Regions from separate parts of the Homo sapiens genome. Here all the other regions are linked to region 2. The links are contacts of gene promoters, found by promoter capture Hi-C in human tissues and cell types (Jung and others, 2019). All regions are on one chromosome and are shown on one strand. Each heading gives the region's core, a stretch centred on a gene start or on the middle of the fragment in contact. The rest is flanking DNA. Distances are from core to core; before and after follow the strand shown. Region 1 overlaps LOC105376084 (a long non-coding RNA gene). Region 2 holds the start of RORB (RAR related orphan receptor B). Region 3 has its middle 24 kb from the start of ANXA1.

Region 1 (4,076 bases), core at 1,359-3,858, 1.0 Mb after region 2:
GTGAACCAAATTCAACAACATATAAAAAAAAATCCACCATGATCAAGTGAGTTTCATACCAGGAATGCAGGGAGGGTTTAACATATGCAAGTCAATAAATGTGATACAGCTCATAAACAGAATTAAAAACAAAAATCACATGATCATCTCAATAGATGCAGAAAAAGCATTTCACAAACTCCAGGAACCTTTGATGATTAAAACCCACAGAAAAATTGGCACAAAAGAAACATTCCTTAAGGTAATAAAAGCCATCTATGACAAACCCATAGCTAACATTATACTGAACAGGGAAAAGTTCAAAGTGTTCCCCCTGAAAAGTGGAAAGAGAAAAGGATGCCCACTTCTACTCAACATAGTACTGGAAGTCCTAGCTAGTACTATCTGACAAGGGAAAGAAATTAAGGCATCTAAATCAGTAAAGAGGAAATCAAACTGTTGCTGTTTGCTGATGATATGATTATATACCTAGAAAACACTAAAGACTACTCCAAAAAGCTCCTAGAACTGATAAATGAATTAAGCAAAGTTTCAGATAAAAAATTAATGTACACAAATCAGTAGCTTTCCTGTAAACCAACAGTGACAAAGCTGAAAGTCGAACTCAACCCCACTTTATAATAGTTGCAAAAAAATAAAATACTTAGGAATATACCTAACCAATGAGCTGAAAGACCTCTACAAGTAAAACTACAAAACACTGCTGAAAGAAATCATAGACGACACAAAAAAATGGAAACACATCTCATGCTCATGGATGCATAGGATCAATATTGTGAAAATGACCATACTGCCAAAAGTGATCTACAAATTCAATGCAATTCCCATCAAAATACCATCATCATTCTTCACAGAACTAGAAAAAACAATCCTAAAATTCGTATGGAACCAAACATATAGCCTGCATAGCCAAAGCAAGACTAAACAAAAATAACAAATCTGGAGGCATCTCATTACCTGATTTCAAAGTATTCTATAAGGTCACAGTCACCAGAACAGCATGATACTGGTATAAAAATGGGCACATAGACCAATGGAACAGAATAAAGAACCCAGAAATAAACCCAAATGCTTACAGCCAACTGATCTTTGACAAAGCAAACAAAAACATAAAGTGGGGAAAAGACACCTTCTTCAACAAATGGTGATGGAATAATTGGCAAGCCACGTGTAGGAGAATGAAACTAGATCCTCATCTCTCACCTTATACAAAAATCAACTCAAGATGAATCAGGGACTTAAATTTAAGAAATGAAACTATAAAAATTCTAGAAGATAACATTGGAAAAACCCTTCTAGACATTGTCTTAGGCAAGGATTTTATGACAAAGAACCCTAAAGCAAATGCAGTGAAAACAAAGATAAATAGGTGGGACTTAATTACACCAAAGAGTTTTCGCAGGGCAAAAGGAACAGTCAGCAGAGTAAACAGACATCCCACAGAGTGGGAGATAATCTTCACAATCTATACATCTGACAAAGACTAATATCCAGAATCTACAACAAACTTAGGCTGAGGCAAAGTCTTCATGCCCAAGAACCTAAAAGCAAATTCAACAAAACAAAGATAAATAGATAGGACTTAATTAAATTAAAAAGCTTCTGTACAACTAAAGAAATAATTAGCAAACAGACAACCCACAAAGTAGAAGAAAATCTTTATGAACTACACATCTGACAAAGGTCTAATATCCAGAATCTACAGGGAACTCAAACAAATCAGCAAGAAAAAAAAAACAATTCCATAACAAATTGGACTAAGGACATGAATAGACAATTCTCAAAAGAAGATGTACAAATTGCCAACAAACATATGAAAAAATGCTCAACATCACTAATTATCAGGGAAATGCAAATCAAAACCACAATGTGATACCACCCTACTCCCGCAAGAATGGCCACAATAAAAAAATAATAGATGTTAGCGTGGATGTGGTGAAATGGAATACTTTTACATTGCTGGTGGGAATGTAAACTAGTACAAACACTATGGAAAACAGTGTGGAAATTCCTTAAAGAATTATTAAATAAAAGTAGATATACCTTTTGATACAGCAGTCCCTCTCTTGAGTATCTACCCAGAGGAAAAGAAGTCATACAAAAAAGACACTTGTATATGCATGTTTATAGCAGCACAATTCACAATTATGAAAATATGAAATCAACCCAAATGCCCATCAATCAATGTGTGGATAGAGAAAAAAATGTGATATATATATGTATGTATGTATATATATATGTATATACATATATGTATGTATGTATATATATATGTATATACATATATGTATGTATGTATATACATATATGTATATACATACGTATATATATACACACACACACCATGGAATACTACACAGACATTAAAAAAATGAAATAATGCAACCTGCATGGAATTGGAGACCATTATTCTAAGTGAAATAACTCAGGAATGGAAAACCAAACATTGTATGTTCTCACTCATAAGTAGGAGCTAAGCTATGTGGATGCAAAGGCATTAGTATGATAATTTGGACTTTGGGGACTTGTGGGAAAAGGTAGAAGGGGGTTCAGGGATAAAAGACTACACATTGGGTACAGTACACTGCGTGGGTGAAGGGTGCACCAAATTTTCAGAAATTACCACTAAAGAACCTATCCAGGAAACCAAACACCACCTGTTTCCCAAAAACCTATTGAAGTAAAAAATGAAAATAAAAAGAGGAATGAGAAATCGAGCCAACAAAACAAAAATAGAGAGTGTGAAACTTAAAATATAAAAAAAGAATGGTCTAATACAAGGAGGTCTCACTATATTGCCCAGGCTGGTCTTGAACTCCTGGTCTTAAGCAATCTCCTCCTGCAGTGGCCTCCCAAAATGCTAGGATTACAGGTACAAGCCACTACTCCTGGTCAAGAATTCTATTTTGAATCATCATAAAACAGTAAATGCCCTTGGTAATTTCTGACATGCACTTGGATAGGAAATTAAAAAATATATAGAAAGTGACAGAATTGAAAGAAAAGACCTCCTTCTCCCAAAATCTTTCCCCAAAGTTCAGGCCAGGGCAATAAACAATCTTTTTTAAACATCTAAATAGTGATCCAGGGCCATAGGGAATAACACCACAGGAGAAAGAAAATGTATTCCAGAGTATAGCATAGAGCAAATATATGCTTATGTATATATATTGTGATGATTAATTATATGGATTTTCGGCTCTGTGGATTTTTGATGTGACAGACCCCATAATTGTGACTCAACTTCTTAAAATCTCTTTATCTCACCTTCTTTCTGTAGAGAGAGAGTGGGAGAGAGAGATTTTGTGTATACATCTCTCTCACACACACACACACACACAAACACAAACAATATTGGCTCTGTTCCTTTGGATAGTGTTGACTAATACAATGTGTATAAAATTACATCTATTTACATAAATGACATTGTAATATATAACACATTAACAGTATTGCATGTCTTCTTATTTACTAATGATAGTGTCAACATTTTTATGTTCATAATGTACAAATACCCCTTATTCTCTTGACAGACATTCAATGACTGTCATGTATACAAACCATGACTATCCAGGTGCATGAATTAAAATTATTTGTTTGCTTCTGAAGTATATGTAGACTCTATTCATCAGCTATTTCCACCACACTGCTGTTGACAAAATATCTCATAATTCAGTAGGTTACATCAGCATTATTCCCATGTTCATGGAAACTGGTGGCTGTGCCTCAGGCTTTATGTTGTCTAGACTTAAATCCAGATTGTAGGAATGGTTCAGGTCTCTCTCCATTTATGTCTGTTTCGGAACACTGGCTGAAAAGGCCAAAGTTATGTTTGAGCATGCTCTTCTCCTAGAGGATCACAAGCTTGAAGGACACAATGTTTAAGCACATTTAAGACCTCTGTTCTTCACATCTAATCTACTGATCAATACAAATCAGATGTCTAAGGGCAACATCAAGAGAACAAACATATACGCTCTTCCCATAATAGTATACACGTCGAGTGTCCCTTATCTGAAAGCTTGGAACCAAAAGTGTTTCAGATTTCAGCTTTTTTTTCCTCAGATTTTGAAATC
Region 2 (4,079 bases), core at 1,533-4,032:
TGATAGGTCTGTGGGCTTAAACTGGTTTTCTCAAGGTGAGCATGAGGACCAGCGCCTGGCTTTCAATCCTTCCAGCTTCTGGAGTCCTCAAAGCGACCGCCGTGGCGAACCAGGACAGTCATCTGCAAACTGCTCCTTCAGGAGATGCTAGATCAAGCTACAACCCATCCCCACCCCGCGCCGCACTCCTTCTACGATGTAAGGAGTGAGCGGATTTTATGCCCTAGGTCCTAGTGCTGGGTCCGAGCTGAGGTGGCGCATAGTTTACGACGTTCAGAAAGTATGAACCCAGCCACAGGGGGAAAGTTAGAAGGGAAGAAGGGGAGGGACGAACTGGCAGCTCTGGACTGGGACGGGGGAAACCGAAAGAATGGATGGGATGGTGAGATGGGCTAGAAAAAGAAAAACAAAAGACCGGGCGTCTCTTACTAAGCCAAGGTTCTCTACTCTCCAATTGCCCAAGTATAGTTTCTTGAAAGAATTTAGACAGTGGAGCGTGTAACCAACCCCCAACCGGGACAATCAGCTGGAGCCAGCGCGCACACACACGGGTGCCCCACTCCCAGCGAGCCGGCCAATCAAGACCATCCCATCAGGACGTCCTTGTTTCTTATCTACAGTCAACCCCCTCCCCCATGGACAGTCTCTCTCCGTTCCTTCTTCTCCTTCCCTTTCCTGACACATCCCAGCGTCCAGCCAGCAAACCCTTGAGTCCAGGCTCGGGGCTCACCGGGTGCGGGAGGGAGTGGGAGTGAGACCCGCTGCCTCCTGGGGTGCTCCTCTAGGGGCGTAGGGGGACTGGGTGGGAGAGGATCACTTTCAGTGGAAGGAGGAGACCAGTGATTGCATCCCAACTCTCCCAAGTGCTCCCTGCCTAGACCACCTCTCTCCGGGTCTGGGATGCAAGAAGGTCTGGAGCTGGCCGTTACTAACTTTCTGTTGTCAAGACCCAGGGGTACGTGCGAAGGATAGAGAAGAGCCCCCGATTAACCGCTGTGTGGCCAGGAAGAGGGACTGGGAGTGGGGGTGGGTGCCCAGAGCTTGCACAGATCCCCATGTCAAGCGGACACCCGCCTGGCTCTTCAGTAAAAGAGTGAAGAAAGGCCGAGCACAGCGCGAAGGAAACCTGAGGTCTCCGGCAAGGCAGGAGAGGAGACCAAGTGACTCCCCGAAACCCACCCTCCAGCCCTTCGAGAGGCCCAGAGTCCAGCCGGAGCAAGCGTAACGCTACAGTCCCTGGCGCGCATCCCTGCAGACCCCAGCTCGCCCCGGGGTCCCGCCGCCGCCGCCGCCACCGCCTGCGACTGCGAGGGTCCTGGCCCGAGGGTGCACCAGCACCTCCTTCCACTACCGGCCCTTTATCTGACAAAAGAGCCGGAGCCCATGACTCTCCGACTGTGAGCAGTGTGGCCTTTCCAAGCCTCCAGAACTTTCTCATTACAACTTTTCCGGGGTCGCACTACTCCCTGGGCCGCGCGGGCTCGGGCACGAGGACCTGGCCAGGGCGCAGCGCCGGCACGAAGGCGCGCGCCGCAGAACTGTTTCCTCAGCCGCGTGCCGGGGAACTAACTGTTTCCTCAGCCGCGTCCAGCCTCGCAGCACTGCTCTTCTGCTTGCTACTCCAGCGAAGGGACATGCCTGCTGGCCAGGACGCTTAGTGGGCCTCGTAACCTGGCGAGTGTGTGCCCGCGCGTGTCCACCCTGCCCCCGGCCGGTGCGCCCCGCGCGCCCAAACCCGGCCGGCGACCACTGCGCGCCGGGCGCTTCCAAACTGCTCCTGTCCAGAGGCATCCCTCTTTCGGCTTTCTCCATCCCGCGTCCGCTTCCGCACCCGAGAGCGACAAGCAAAAAAGATTCAGTGCAACTCAAGGACTGGTAAGAACCAACTAGCCTGTCTCCCCTCTCCAAAAAAGCGCCCTCCCGCGTCCCTCCAGAACTCCCGAAAGACATCAACACCTTCCCGCAACTTTCTACGCCCAGGCCATTTGCAGCCCCACCTGCGAGAGCGAATTCGGGGAACTGCGCCTGGGCAACCTCTTTCCCTTTCTGCTGGGTGCCCTCCCCTCCCCCATCTCCCCGTCTGGCTGGAGTTGGCCGGACTCGGGGAGCCTCGGTGCCCGCAGACTCGCTTACCTCGCATGGTGTGGCCGCTCTCCCGCTCCGCGTAGTCATGAAGCTGCTCCCAGCCCGAACCCCGGAGAGCCCAAAAATCCCGCTCAGCACGAGTGAAGAAGGTGGTCGGCGAAGAGCTGCTCTGCCGAGAAAACCATCCCTTTAGGCGGACGCCGTGGCTGCAGGGTGACGTTTGCCGCCGCCGCCGCTATGTTAACAGTTTTGATGTTGGTGGTGACTGTTTTGATGATTGTTTGTTTGTTTGTTTGTTTTCAGGAAGGGTGAAAAAAAAATGTTCTGGCTGTCTGGTGCCTGGGTTTTGTTTTGGTTTTGTTTTTCTTTTTCTTTCTCTCCAATGTGCTTGCTTTTTAAAAAATGCCACCGCCTCCGGCTCAGAAGATTTCTTTTGTGATCACTTGGACTGAGGAGGAGGAGGAAGGGCAGCAGCAGGAGGAGGAGTTGGTGGTGGTTTTGTTAGTTACAAAGAAGAGGGAGAAGGAACAAGGGGGAAAAAAGGAAACAGAAAGAAAAGAAAGAAAGGCGGTGTGGATGGCAGAGCATGTGCGTTTTCACATGACATCTGTGCCTGTTAGCGGATCCACAATGTGAATTTTCACTGTTCAGTTACAGGGAGGAAGGGAGCAGCGAGAGAGAAAGAGAGGGGAGAGATGGAGAGAGAGCGCTGAGAGGGGCTTATACGCGAGGGCGGGCTTGGCCGCGACTTCCAGGCCCCGCCTGCTGTCAGCGCAGCCGCCAATCAGAGCCCAGCAGCGCCTGGAGAGGCTGGGACCGCGGGGAGGGGACGTGGTGGAGGCGGGGGGTGGGGCGGGGGCTGGGGACCAGGGAGTCCGAGGTGGCCGGGGCTGCGACGGGGAATTCGAGACTGTCCGAACTGGGCAGAGAAGAAGGGCCGACCGGGAGAGTCGGGCAGATCCGCAGGTGACAGGCACTTCCGACTCCAGCAGAGAAGGGGACACTGATCACGGAAAACCTTCGGAGGCAAGAGACGCGGGGCTCCCCGGGTTTCACGTTCGGTCCCTGTCTCGCAACCCCCGCGGGCCCGGCAGAGTTAGTTTTGAATTTATGGCAGCGCTTTGCCGAGCGCTATTTGGGTAAACTTCGGTCTCCGGCGGGGGTTTCCGTGGGCAGGTGGTTTGGGTGTTGGTGGTAGAATAATGCAAACCCACTTTCATCACTTTTAGCACAACTAAAATGCAGTCCCATGGAAGTAGCTGTCCCCTTCCTTTAAAAACGTCCGTCAGATGCTCCCTGACCCTCTTCTAAAAAAAAAAAAAAAAGAAAGAAAGAAAGAAAAAAACGTGTATATGTTCTTTTGTCTGGGAAATTGATTTTTATTAGCATTTGGAGACTCCCCTGGCGATGGACTACAGGACTGAAGGAGAACAGCTCAAATTGGCGGTGTAGCCACCTTACTAATTCAAGAGAAATGGCTGTTGCTAGAAGGTGTGATTGCAGGGTGCTCTTTAGAAAGGTTTTAGAAGGAAGACATTGTTAACTTTAGTTAGAGGCGATTGGTAACTGAACATAGATAAACTTACTTGTATTCCTTAGGTGAAAATTGTCATCTATGACCATTTATTTGTATTTTGATAAAAATCTAATACATATATCCAAACTGTTCCTTTGCAAGTTTTTCCAACTCAGTTGACAAAATAAGCATATAGATGATTACATCTACTTCCTTCCCAATAGTAGGGAACTTCTTAAATACTTGAGTTAATTGAACACCCTAAAAGATTGGGAGGTGAAAATATTTGCCTCATTCACTCAGTCTTGAGGCTGGGAGATGTCTACTCATTAGCATACCTGTTGGCACAGCAGGCCTCATCATCATTTAAGTATCCAAATAATTTGATTTTTGACTGGTATTTATTCATGATATGTCATGTAACACAAAGTACAATGTAGAATTGGCAGTTATTTAGTTAATTAGGTCGCTCTACACT
Region 3 (3,954 bases), core at 1,302-3,801, 1.3 Mb after region 2:
GATTAAAAAAAACAAAAGACAAATTTCATTCAACAAATAGAGGGTGAAACAGCTTTGCTTAGTTAACATTCATTCCCAGAGCTCTTTGTGTGTCACAATGAATACATAAATAACAATACAACTTTCAATTTACAGAAAGTCAAGAAAGCCTAATCTTTGGTTTGTGAATGTGGAAGAATGAAGGAACGTAGACCAAACAGCAGATATAGGTAACACATACATTATTGAAGGAGTTTTAGAAATAGTAGTGTTAGATTAGTGATTCTTTAAACCCAGTGTTCAAGTGAATGTAAAAGGGACATTCCAGGGGACCAGAAGAAAGCTGTGTCCATGATGCTCCCATGGTGCTTTCCCGATCTTTCAGGTCCTATTTTGCTCTCAATCTGTCTCACATCAGTCTGGATCTTGTCTATGCTCAGACCTTCAATAGAGTTTAGCAATGATGTTCATTCAGCTCATCTTATGATTAGCAAAAAAGCAAAATGCTGAAAACAAATGCTCCCTGTCAATTAGGGCTATTTTGAAATGGTAGAACCACTCCATCCCTAAGAGATTTTACAGAAGCATGCTAGTCCTTGAGGTAAAGCAACTTTCCTGCTGCAGTTGTGGCCCTGGTGTCTTCTCTAGAATGGATCTTTTCCCCAACATGTTGGACTAACCAAGAAAAGAGAGCTAGAGAGACCGTATGACACAGCAGTGCTCCAGTCTTGTATCCTTGGTATTCGAGTATAATTCTTGATGTCCACCAAATGCCTTAGCATAAAGAATAAGCACTTTGAGCTAACCTGTAATAGCACAAGCTATCATTTTTTGTCATAATTTTACTAAGTGCTAGCTATTGTACCAGACAATAGCAATACAACAATAAAAGGCAAAAAAAAAGAAGAAAGAAAAGAAATAGTCTATGCAAACAACCTGTTCATATTCTAGAAGAAGTGACAAATATTAACTAAATAATCGCTTAAATATAAAATTACAACTCTGGCATTTAATATAGTACAGAGATATGTAGTGTTAAAAGGGTCTATGAGATATTTGAGCTGATATTTGAAGAATTAGCAAAGTTAACAAGAATGAAATGAGAAAAATATAGTGTTTAGGCTGAGGAAGTCCAAAGCCCTTGAGACAGGAGGAAGCATAGACAGAGTAAGGCTTGTAGAAGGCCAGTGCAGGGGAATACAGAGAGTGCTGAAAAGTATGCCGCCCAAAGAAGATGGAGAGCTGGGGGGGAAGCCACGCCCTACTGGCACTAAGCTGAGTGACTAAGGAGACTGGCATTTTGTGGAATCACAAACAAAAGCTTCTCAGTATTGTAAGGTGCCACCCAAGGGGTTGCATGGGGTAACCACATTAACATTTGCCATCTGGGCAGAGCAAAATACGTGTGACAAAATATAGACATTAGTCACTCAGCTTAGTGCCAGTATTGAACTGGCAAGGCTCACACTTGCCCCTGGTAAGGCTCTGTCATCTTTAATCCATTCAAAGTGGATTAAAGAAGTTTCAACACGTGGTCTCTGGGAAAGATGGCTGCCCTGAGTAAAAGAAAAGATAGGAAAGGGAAAGGAGAGAAAGAGAGAGAAAAGCATAGCCTGTGATGAGGTAGGGAAGGCAAGTAGCTCAGGAAGGCCAGAGAAAGACCCACCCATTGTAGCAACACTGAATCAAAAGTTCAGGCGGTCGCTTGACAGTTGTGAAGGGATCTTTTCCAGGGGTCCTATCAGCTCTCAAGTTTCCCCCTTTGGGGAGGAAAAAGCTCCCCATGTCCCATGATCCTGTACACGCCTAATCCTTTCACCCATAGCCATCAGCAAACAGTGCAAGGCAGATTAATCCACAGAGAATAGTGGTTAACATCCCATAGTGCCAAATCCATTTTTAACAAAGAGAGACTTTACTGAGAGGGGCCTCTAACCCCCTACATTTTAGGAAGCACTCTAACCTTCCTATGCTGGTCCTCAAACCCAAGTTTGGTCAAGCGTCCTTGCCTTTTATTCACGCCTGTAATTCCAGCACTTTTGGAGGCCGAGGTGGGTGGATCACCTGAGGTCAGGAGTTCCACCAGCCTGACCAACCTGGTGAAGCCCCGTCTCTACTAAAAAATACAAAAATTAGCTGGGTGTGGTAGCACATGCCTGTAATCCCAGCTACTCGGGAGGCGGAAGCATGAGAATGGCTTGAACCTGGGAAGCAGAGGTTGCACAGCCTGGACAACAAGAGCGAAACTCCGTCTCAAAAAAAAAAAGTGGGGTGGGGGGAATTTTAACCTTCTTTGTCTTAGGAGAGACTCTCCTAAGTTGGGCCTCTAACCCAACATCATCCTTTACTGGGGTAAAATGTACCCCACCACTTTCTCAAAGTTGGTGCTGCAATCTATTTCCTTCAGGTCAGGGGTCTCTTCAGTATAGTCCCTTCATGGTCACCAGGAAGATGTTACCAGAAAAGGGTCCTGATCCAGACCCCAAGAGAGGGTTCTTGGATCTCACGCAAGAAAGAATCTGGGGCAAGTCCATAGAGTAAAGTGAAAGCAAGTTCATTAAGAAAGTAAAGAAATAAAGAATGGCTACTCCATAAGCAGAGCAGCCTTTTCTCCTAAATCTTGATAATAAATATATTTCTTTCTAATATTTGACATTTACAACTCTCAAGTATTTTTTTCTTTAAACCTAACCATTGAAGGGGAATATGATATCAAAAAAAGTAGAAAATATACAATTGCATTTCATGGCCTTGTTTATTAGATTTGCCAAAAAAAAAAAATCACTATATCTGTAAGCAAAAGACAATATTTCTATTTTTTACTTTTTGGGTAAAAATGTACTTATTATTATATATACTTCCTAGATTTTTATATATTTGAAAATATTATTACCATTGTGTTTAAGAGATTCCTCACTGATTGTACAGAGTTTCCACTACTCCATGACAAAACCAACTTATTTTATAATAGTATCTTGCAACAAGACCTGGCATCTGAAGCAGGTTCTCATTTAGTTTCATTTTTCCCTCATATCTATGGTCTTTCTTCTCATAATTTTCTTCCTGTAACTTTAGTGAAATGGATCCATAGTCAGAAAGCCTGTGTTCAAATTTGTGTTTATTCATTGACCTACTGTATGAACTTGGACAAGTCCAGAGAAATCTGGAAACTTTGATTTCTTCATTTGTAGAAAGCAGATAACACCTCCCTCCCAGGTTTATTTGAAAACAGAATAATATTTTTGTAAAAATGCATCTAATTATAGTTGTTAGGTCTTAATTCTCAATACAAAAGATAATTAATTCATTCAGGAATATGAAATGCCACTAGCCATTCAGGTTTTTGCTGTTTTGTAGCCTTTCCTGAATCCATTACTCTCTCTTGATTTACCAAAGCGCTTCCTATGTGCCTATATATTACCTTTAATACATTATACCATCATATTTTGCATAGCTTTTTTCTCCCTGGCTATATTATGAGCTTTACAATTAGATAGCTATTTTAATAGACTTTATTTTTATAGAGCAGTTTTAGGTTTACAGAAAAATTGCACGGAAATTAGAGTCTCCATACACCCTTTCTACCTCTCCCTTATTTTTCCCTTGATATATTATTAACCAATATCCATAGTTTACATAAGATTCACTCTTTGTATTATACAGTTCTACAGGTTCTTGGAAATGTGTAACTGCCATGTATCTACCATTATAGTATCATACAGAATAGTTTCATTGCCCTAAAACTGTTCTGTGCTCCACCTATTTATCCCTCCCCCCTTCAACCTAACCCCTGGAAATCATTGATCTTTTTACTGTCTCCATAAGTTTTGTCTTTTTCAATATTTTCAGTATTTATATAGTTGGAATCATGTAATATGTAGACTTTCAGACTGGCTTTTTTCACTCAGCAGTATGTGTTTAAGATTCTTCCATGTCTTTTGCTTGATAGCTCATTTCCTTTTATTATTAAATAGT

What was found. The method cuts DNA at HindIII sites, captures the fragments that hold promoters and counts their contacts. A contact is called where the count stands out against the background at its distance.
Region 1: a fragment that was not itself captured here is called in contact with the fragment with the promoter of RORB in region 2 in 2 of the 25 tissues and cell types used here (dorsolateral prefrontal cortex and mesenchymal stem cells).
Region 3: a fragment that was not itself captured here is called in contact with the fragment with the promoter of RORB in region 2 in 1 of the 25 tissues and cell types used here (lymphoblastoid cells).

Annotation. Positions count from the first base shown.
Region 1 is chr9:73,463,306-73,467,381 of GRCh38, reverse strand. It overlaps LOC105376084 (a long non-coding RNA gene), which reads right to left. Exons shown (of 7, transcript XR_007061581.1): 7 at 2,815-4,076. Among named protein-coding and RNA genes, the nearest start is that of ANXA1, 310 kb to the right of the region's middle. The HindIII fragment of the contact is 5,473 bases long and covers 1-4,076 here.
Region 2 is chr9:74,496,038-74,500,116 of GRCh38, reverse strand. It overlaps RORB (RAR related orphan receptor B), which reads right to left and starts at 2,782. Exons shown (of 10, transcript NM_006914.4): 1 at 2,134-2,782. The coding sequence starts at 2,140. It overlaps RORB-AS1 (RORB antisense RNA 1), which reads left to right and starts at 1,564. Exons shown (of 5, transcript NR_125791.1): 1 at 1,564-1,875. RefSeq lists enhancers at 1-45, 104-880 and silencers at 2,550-2,844, 2,749-2,938, 2,934-3,146. The HindIII fragment of the contact is 7,823 bases long and covers 1-4,079 here.
Region 3 is chr9:73,174,070-73,178,023 of GRCh38, reverse strand. No RefSeq gene overlaps it. Among named protein-coding and RNA genes, the nearest start is that of ANXA1, 24 kb to the right of the region's middle. The HindIII fragment of the contact is 4,050 bases long and covers 527-3,954 here.